Linked DNA regions of Homo sapiens: region 2 is linked to region 1. The links are contacts of gene promoters, found by promoter capture Hi-C in human tissues and cell types (Jung and others, 2019). All regions are on one chromosome and are shown on one strand. The core of a region is centred on a gene start or on the middle of the fragment in contact, and the rest is flanking DNA. Distances in the headings are between cores, read along the strand shown. Region 1 holds the start of FOXF1 (forkhead box F1). Region 2 has its middle 21 kb from the start of LINC02181.

Region 1 (4,407 bases), core at 1,258-3,757:
TCGCTGGGAAGGGTGTTTGAGGCCGTGGGCGGTGCGGAGCGTGTCTGTGTGCGCGGAGGCTGAGCTGGTTGTGTGAAGTGGTAGCGGGTCTGCCAGAGAGCGTTTACCTGCGTGAATGCACAACCACACACTACGGGTCACGTCCCACACTCATTCTTTCCCTAGGCGGGCCAGGCTGTCTGCACGCGGAGACCCAGAGAGGCCAGCGGAAGGGCAGCGCGGGAAGGCGGCTCTCTTCTCCCGCGAGCGCAGATCTGGCGGAGGAGGCGGCGACTGCCCGGCAGGCTGCGCCGGCGAGCCCCCCAGCTCCTCTCACCGACGTGCCAGGCGCCCCGAAGGCGACAGGCGTCTCCCGCCGAAAATGAAGGCGTCCGAGCCAGGAAGGTGGGGGCGGGTAGTTAGCGGGAGACAAGGAGTCCGGAGAAAACCGAGAGGCGGGTAGGCTTTGAACGCGCCGCGCCGCGGGCCGTGCTGCGAGCCCGGCACACGCCTCTCGCCCCAGCTCGCGCTGGGGCTTGGCCTCTAGGCTCTTCGCGATGACCCGCGAAAACACCCCTCGCCCCCCTCTTCTCAACTCGGAACCCTGGAGGGAGAGGCCGCGCCCGGCCAGCAGTCGCTGCGAGAGCAGCACTCACCTGGGTCTGTGCGCGCCGCGATGCGCCGGGGCTCCTGCGCTGTCCTGCGCTCCGCTCTCGGCACCACCTTTCGTGGCTCCACCGCCCCCAGCCCGCACCCGAGCGCTGAGGTGGCAAGGGCAGGTCTGCGTGCGAGCCCCCTGCGGGCTGGCAGCCAGGTGCGCGAGGGCCGCCCTTGCCGGCGCTCCCAGCCCGCGCTGTCTGCTCTCAGGAACCTGGCCTGGCGCGCAGTGTCAGAGGCCCCGCGGCGGCGGCAGGCCGAGCCCACAGGGGCATTAGGCCAACTCCCCCCTCCCGCCCTGCGCACGCGGAATTCTCTATTATTATTATTAAAGAATCCCCCAGAACTTGTTTACGTTAAACCCTGTAAACTTCCTGCCAGGGCCTTTGCCATCTCTCGGGAAATCGGAACCTGCGCTTTGAAAACGGGGCCGCGGGGCCAAATAGGCGGGTTTTCAGTGTGTGTTGGGGGTGGGGGAGGGCAACTGAACTACGTGTGAGTTCAGATCCGAGCGTGGCGTGTGTACGCGTGAGTGGGAGTGAGTGCGAACTTAAGCTCCTGTGGGCCTTAAGCTTCCGTGTCAACGAGTGCATTAGTGGGTGCGCACATGCCTGAGCGCCCTCTGCATATGAGTGTGCACACACGCATGGGTGTGTTTACACGTCTGTTTGCGTAATTTACCGGGTTTGCATGTGCATCAAGACATGTATGTGTGTGCTAATGTGTGGACAAGAGCGCGAGGGTGTGCGCGCACGGGTGAGTGACTGAGCACGCCGCTTATTCAGGGGCCTGTGCGGTCTGGGTCGCCTCTGGGCCAGCGGGTTCTCACTCGCCCCCGTCAGGCCCGCGGCGCCCGAGACAAAGCGGCCGCGACTCGTGCTGCGCTTTCGTTTTCCGCCTGCGCTCTGCCCCGGCGGCTGCCCGCCCGCTCGCAAGCTGCTGGGCGAGTCCGAAAAATCCCGGGAGCGGCGCAGTTCTTCCCGGGGCGGGGAGAGTGGGTAGGCGGTCCCTCGCGGGAACTTAGCCGGCCGGCCGCGAGGACCGGAGTCGAGCCGGCTGTGCCTGCGATGGTCACGACCGGGAGGCCGCCGCACTTGCGATTTGCTACAGGGCTGTGCGCGTCGGGGAAGGCCCCGGCCCAGGGAGCGTTTCCCGCCGCGCCGCCCGGGCGGGGAAGGCGGGGTCCAGCGCGCACCGGGGCTGAACCGCGGGCGGAGGGCGCATTAACACTTGCTCGCCAGGTTGGTGGAGGCGGGGCGGATTCTGCTGGCGGCCGCGGGGCGGCGAGAGTGGGGGCTCTTTAAGCGCCCACCAACGCGGGGGCCCGAGGGGGGCAGGGACGGAGGGAGGGAACTCCGGGAGGGTCTTAGGCCGACCCGCGAGACGCAGCCGAGCGGAGATGGAGTGAAGGCTGCCTCGCCCGGAATCTCGGAGCCGAGCGCCGCGGGCGGCGGGGACTCAGGGCTGCTCCCGGCTGGGGCGCACGGCCGTAAGACCTGGAGGTGGTGCCTCCCCCCAAAAAATACCGGCGGGGGTAGCTTCCTCACGGCCTTCGCCCGGGCTGCCCTCGGCCTCAGCTCGGCTCCTTTCCTTGTGGGAGGGCGAGAAAGAAAGAGGGAGGAGAGAGGTGGGGGAGGCGGGAGTTGGAGAGAGAGGGGCTCTGAGCCAACCGCCGGCGGATCCAGCAGCTCCTCGGGGAGGGCGGGCGGGAGCGCGGGGGCGGGCGCGCCGCGGCTCGCTCGGGAGAAGTGGCCGCCGATGACGGCAGAGGTGCAGCCAGCCCCGCGCGCGCAGCCCCCTCCCCTTCGCCCTCCTCCCCCCCGTCGTCCTCTTCCTCCTCCTCCTCCTCCTCCTCCCGGCCCGTCCGCGGCGCAGAGCAGCGGCGGCAGCGGCGGCGGCGGCAGCAGCCACCCGATGTCTTCGGCGCCCGAGAAGCAGCAGCCACCGCACGGCGGCGGCGGCGGCGGCGGCGGGGGAGGCGGCGCGGCCATGGACCCCGCGTCGTCCGGCCCGTCCAAGGCCAAGAAGACCAACGCCGGCATCCGGCGCCCGGAGAAGCCGCCCTATTCCTACATCGCGCTCATCGTCATGGCCATCCAGAGTTCACCCACCAAGCGCCTGACGCTGAGCGAGATCTACCAGTTCCTGCAGAGCCGCTTCCCCTTCTTCCGGGGCTCCTACCAGGGCTGGAAGAACTCCGTGCGCCACAACCTCTCGCTCAACGAGTGCTTCATCAAGCTACCCAAGGGCCTTGGGCGGCCCGGCAAGGGCCACTACTGGACCATCGACCCGGCCAGCGAGTTCATGTTCGAGGAGGGCTCCTTTCGGCGGCGGCCGCGCGGCTTCCGAAGGAAATGCCAGGCGCTCAAGCCCATGTACAGCATGATGAACGGGCTCGGCTTCAACCACCTCCCGGACACCTACGGCTTCCAGGGCTCGGCCGGCGGCCTCTCGTGCCCGCCCAACAGCCTGGCGCTGGAGGGCGGCCTGGGCATGATGAACGGCCACTTGCCGGGCAACGTGGACGGCATGGCCCTGCCCAGCCACTCGGTGCCCCACCTGCCTTCCAACGGCGGCCACTCGTACATGGGCGGCTGCGGCGGCGCGGCGGCCGGCGAGTACCCGCACCACGACAGCTCGGTGCCCGCCTCCCCGCTGCTGCCCACCGGCGCCGGTGGGGTCATGGAGCCGCACGCCGTCTACTCGGGCTCGGCGGCGGCCTGGCCGCCCTCGGCGTCCGCGGCGCTCAACAGCGGCGCCTCTTATATCAAGCAGCAGCCCCTGTCCCCCTGTAACCCCGCGGCCAACCCCCTGTCCGGCAGCCTCTCCACGCACTCCCTGGAGCAGCCGTATCTGCACCAGAACAGCCACAACGCCCCAGCCGAGCTGCAAGGTGAGTGGGGAGGCCGAGGGCGCCCTGGTCCCCGGGAAGTCGAGTCTGAGTGGCAGCGGGACCCAGCTGGGGCGAGCCCCTCCACTTCTGTGGTCGGAACCCCAAGGCTGAGGGGAGGCACCAGCTCCCCAAGGTGTCTCTTGGCCCCACCTCTCCCCCTTCGAAGAGTGACTACCGCTCTTGACCCTAGTTTGGGCCAATCTGTTTCTCTTTCTGTTCGAACTCCAGCTGCCAGCTGCTCCAGGCCTGACCAGGTAGGCTGGTCCTGAGCCAGATGTCCCAGACCCCAGTGCCCTAAGTCCTTTTGTGTCCCTTAAGTCCCCTCACAGCTTGGAAAGATCCTGGGATGGACCCAAGGCTCCCAGCGCTGGCCAGATGGCTGTCCCTCCCTGGTGGTGGCCCTCAGGCTGCCTGGAGGGCTGCCTCTGCCTGGGGCTGGGCGGAACGGAAGGTGTTAGGCCCAAAGCCGCTGGGCCAGCGCTCAGAGGCTCAGCCCCGGCCTTTCAGGGGACCAGACCTGGCAGACCCACAGCTGAGTCCAGGGGCATTTTGTGGTGACTGAGGCAGGAGGGTGCCGTGGCCAGGCCCCGGAGGGTCAGAGCTGCAGACCGGGCCATGGGGGCTCCTTGTTTTTTAGGATCCAAGTTTTCAGGTCCCCACACCCCCAACACCCCTGATACCCCAATACCCCGAACATGCAGAAGCATCTGCCAAGGGAGATGCAGCAGCCTCGCCTCCTGATTCTGCCCCAGGCCCCCCGCAGCCTGCAGGCCCAGCTCTGGAAAAAGCTGGAGTGAGCTTGCCAGGGCCAGTCCAGGGTCAGCTGTCAGCAGCCCCAGGAGGCAGGAGCCAGGCCTGGAGGCCTTAGGCAGCCTCTC
Region 2 (4,407 bases), core at 708-3,207, 530 kb after region 1:
TCTCTGCTTTCACCCTCCTCAAATATACACACACAGGCCCCAAGGACAGCACGAAAATGACTAATTTGAAAGAAGGAAAAATCAGGCTCTCCATAAAGCATGGTCTCTCCAGAGTCACTAAGTACTGTAACAAAACATGCCTCAAGTTCTGCCGATCCCAAGAAGTACTGAAAAAAAATCACGTATGCGAACCCTATCTGGGCAATTTTTCCAGCCCAGTGTGGTTTGGATCATTTAGGAGAAATTCCGAATAGGAGTCTGGATGATTTATCCAAGTCCTCAGATGAGCATACTCAAAGAGCATCCCCTCATGCTATGGCATCGGCAGGAACAGGACGATGGGCATGGGACAGTGGGACGATGCCCCAGGGCTGTGATTCCAGGCCCTGGCTGAATGAAGTGTCCTGTGGGACATCAGCAACACTTGGCAAAGAACTTCATGGTCCAATACGCTTGGAAAGCACAAGGTACTCTAAGACAGGGCTGGCCAACCATGTCCCGGGGCCATGTTGGACCCTCCACGTGTTTTTATAAATAAAGTTTTATTGGAACACAGCCATGCCCATTTGATTATAGACTGTCCATGGCAGCTGCCTGCCACAACAGCTCAGTGTGTCCTTGCGACAGCCCAGATGACCCACGAAGCCAAAAGCTTTACTAGCTGGCCCTTTAGAGATAGAGCAGAGCAGGGGTCAGCAAACTCTAAGACCTTAGAGATTCACAAATTAGAGAGTCAGCACGTTAAACACTCCGAGAGATCCTGCCACAGGGAACTCTAGTCCACTTGGTCTAGCATAATATTCTCAACTACATTTAATTTTAAAAAAACTTTTCCCTCTCTAAGACATGTATTAATTCCTCTCATAGGATGCCCTTCCTAGGACACATTTTGGGAGATACTGGTGTGTGTGCACATGTGTGCTTGTATGTGCACGGAAGAAATACGTGTGAGAACAGTCACCACGAGGAAAACACCCTGTGTCCATTTTCGGACACCTCCGGCCTGACACAGCAGGCACAAGAACGTCATTCATGTGGTTACTTAACCAGCTCTTGAGACACGTAAGAATACCGCATCCACACAACCAAATTAAAAGGTTCCGTTTGTTCAGGAGAGAAATTGTTTTATTACCAATAATTGATTATTTCTAATATGGAAAACTCCATCTTGCTAAAACAGAGGATAAGAGATAGATCCATAAAATAAGATAGAAGTCGCCAGGCGCAGTGGCTCAGGCCTGCAATCCCAGCACTTTGGGAGGCCAAGGTGGGTGGATCATGAGGTCAGGAGATCAAGACCATCCTGGCTAACACAGTGAAACCCCATCTCTACTAAAAAAAAAATACAAAAAATTAGCCAGGCGTGGTGGCGGGCGCCTGTAGTCCCAGCTACTTGGGAGGCTGAGGCAAGAGAATGGCATGAACCTGGGAGGCAGAGTGAGCCAAGATCGCACCACTGCAGTCCAGCCTGGGCGACAGAACGAGATTCCATCTCAAAAAAAAAAAAAAAAAAAAAAGATAGAAGGGACCACCCTGCAGAAGAAGAAAGAACACAAATAGGGGCTGAACTGGATTCTCTCAAGGATCCCGTGTTGCACCCTAACCCCCAGTCCCTCAGAACACGACTGTCTTTGGAGACACAGCCTTTAAAGAGATGATGAGAGTAAAATAGGTCATCAGGGTGGGCCCCAATTCAATAGAACCGGTGTGTCCTCATAAGAGGAGAAAATTAGGAGGACACAGACACGGAAGGAAGTCCCCGTGAGGACCCAGGGAGAAGACGTACGTCTGCGAGCCAAGGAGGGGGCCTTGGAGGAACCAACCCTGTAGGCATCTTGACCTCAGACTTGCAGCCTCCGGAGCTGGGCATTTCTGCTGTCTGAGCCTCCCAGTCTGTGGGACTTTATGGCAGCCCCACACACAATTATAGCTAATAAGGCTTCTCAACAGAGTACCCATGGAAAATGTCTGATAATGTACAGCTACATTTTATGAAAAAGGCTTCCATTCAGCCTACAGTTAGATCTGAGTTCAAAATCAAAACAGTTACCAGCTGTGTGAGTTTGGAGACGCGACTCACTCTCTCCGATTCTATGCCACAAAATGGAAACACCGGCACCTGCTTCACCTGAGTCTTCCTCACAGGTTGCTGGTGAAGACTGAGTGAGGGAATAGAAGTAAAACCAAGTGGCACAGAGGGGCCATCGATGAGCAGCCTTCCTCATGATTACTGTATTTCTTCTATCCTAAGGCAACATCGATTGTGATTCACCATCAACTGGCTAAGAGATTTTAAGGAGCAAAGAGATGCCAGCCTATATGTGCTCATCAGTGACAAAATGCACTCTGATTAGAGAAACACACAGATGGGAGGGAAATGAAATGTTTTTCCAGGCATTGAGAGAGTGTGATATTCCTCTTGGTTTTATATTTAGAGAGGCACACACCTCATCGCGACGTGGAAATGGTGATACCAGATCCTGGTGCGGGGCTCTGTAGCACGGACTGGGAATGCCAGGGCATTCCTCCAGGGCATGAGTGAAACAAACAAGGCTTGGTGAGAACCTGTACACGGTCATACCCCACCCATGGGTGGAGGAAGGGCTTCAGCCCAGACCTCCCGATAGCCCCTCCTGAGCTACCTCTACACCCACAAAGGACAGGGGACATATGGGGTTGGTTGTTTGTTTTTTGAGACAGAGTTTCACTCTTGTTTCCCATGCTGGAGTGCGATGGCATGATCTCAGCTCACTGCAACCTCTGCCTCCCGGGTTCAAGCCATTTTCCTGCCTCAGCCTCCTTAGTAGCTGGGATTACAGGCACCTGCCACCATGAGCAGCTAACTTTTTGTATTTTAAGTAGAGACAGGGTTTCACCATGTTGGCCAGGCTGGTCTTGAGCTCCTGACCTCAGGTGATGCACCTGCCTCAGCCTCCCAAACTGCTGGGATTACACGTGTGAGCCACCATGCCCGGCTCAGGGTACATATGTTTTAACCCACAGAGTGACCAAATTAGTAGCAGAACAAGGAACTTTATAGATGGATTTTACTATATGAACTCCTCGGTGATTCCAAATTCAAGAATTCTTGTCATTTTTATGACATGTCTTGTTTTTCTCTGAGCCTGCAAGGTCAGTGAGGACAATCAGGTCAAATGAAAGTGGCCCATGGATTTCACCAATCCAGGAGCACTATAAGGGAGTAAATGGAAATCAGACCAGGCCCAGGAGGTTGTGTTACTGGGGAGATACTGAGCGGTGTTACAAAGGGAAGTTCATGTACCACAGGTGGGCCCATTTACAGCTTGAACTTCAAGCAGGAGTAACTTTTTCCACCAAAAGAGTTTAAAACTCTTCTCCAACTCCCAAGGAAAACAAAATAATTTTGATCCTATAGAGACAATGCAGACCCTACTGGGAACCAGCACAGAGACCACCAGGCAGCCACTTTCCTTATGCAGGAGAGCTGACTACCAGCTCCACACAGAGCATTTGAGAGGAAGAAAAAGGTTTCCAGGGAATCCATTCATAGCATTATATTCCTCAGGTTAGTGCTTTGAGAGGCTCATAAAAAAATGCAAAGGGGCTAGGCGCAGTGACTCACTCTTGTAATCCCAGAACTTTGGGAGGCCAAGGTGGGCAGTTCACCTTAGGTCAGGAGTTCAAGACCAGCCTGGCCAACATGGTGAAACCCTGGCTCTACTAAAAATACAAAAATTAGCTGGGCATGGTGGCTCACACCTGTAATCCCAGCTACTCAGGAGGTTGGGGCACGAGAATCACTTGAACCCAGGAGGTGGAAGTTGCAGTGAGCCAAAATCGTGCCACTGCACTCCAGCCTGGGTGACAGAGCAAGACTCCATCTAAGGAAGGAAGGAAGGAAGGAAGGAAGGAAGGAAGGAGGGAGGGAGGGAGGGAGGGAGGGAGGGAGGGAAGGAAGGAAGGAAGGAAGGAAGGAAGGAAGGAAGGAAGGAAGGAAGGAAGGGAGAGAGAGAAAGAGAAAGAGAAAGAGAAAGGAAAAGAAAAGAAAAAAGAAAGGAGAAGAAAAAGTAAAGGACTAACGTGAGATAGGCTTCAGGGTTTTGAAACAAGACCTCCCAGGGAAACTGAGAGCAGCAGGGAACACACAGCAAGGGGAACAGTGCCCAGACTTCTATGCCCCGTGCTTGTTAAACCCTATTTCCAGGTACTCAGCAGGGAAGCAAAAAGTTGACATCAGAACTCACTGACAATGAGTAATGGATATGTCTTTTTCAGAGTGTGCGCTCAGATATCCTCAATTATTCCTCTTAAGAAAATCTTGAGTTAAGGATCATTCTAGGAATTTTTATAAAAAGAGGACCCTGGAGTGGCAAGACTCTCTGGGACTAACCAACCACCATGCCCTGGGCTCAGCTTCCCTTGGAG

The links. Contacts are between HindIII fragments. The study calls those that stand out against the background at their distance.
Region 2: a fragment that was not itself captured here is called in contact with the fragment with the promoter of FOXF1 in region 1 in 1 of the 25 tissues and cell types used here (dorsolateral prefrontal cortex).

What each region holds. Positions count from the first base shown.
Region 1 is chr16:86,508,020-86,512,426 of GRCh38, forward strand. It overlaps FOXF1 (forkhead box F1), which reads left to right and starts at 2,508. Exons shown (of 2, transcript NM_001451.3): 1 at 2,508-3,529. The coding sequence starts at 2,551. FENDRR (FOXF1 adjacent non-coding developmental regulatory RNA) reads right to left here and starts at 841. Exons shown (of 4, transcript NR_033925.1): 1 at 636-841. RefSeq lists an enhancer at 4,001-4,407. The HindIII fragment of the contact is 9,827 bases long and covers 1-4,407 here.
Region 2 is chr16:87,034,718-87,039,124 of GRCh38, forward strand. No RefSeq gene overlaps it. Among named protein-coding and RNA genes, the nearest start is that of LINC02181, 21 kb to the right of the region's middle. The HindIII fragment of the contact is 9,812 bases long and covers 1-4,407 here.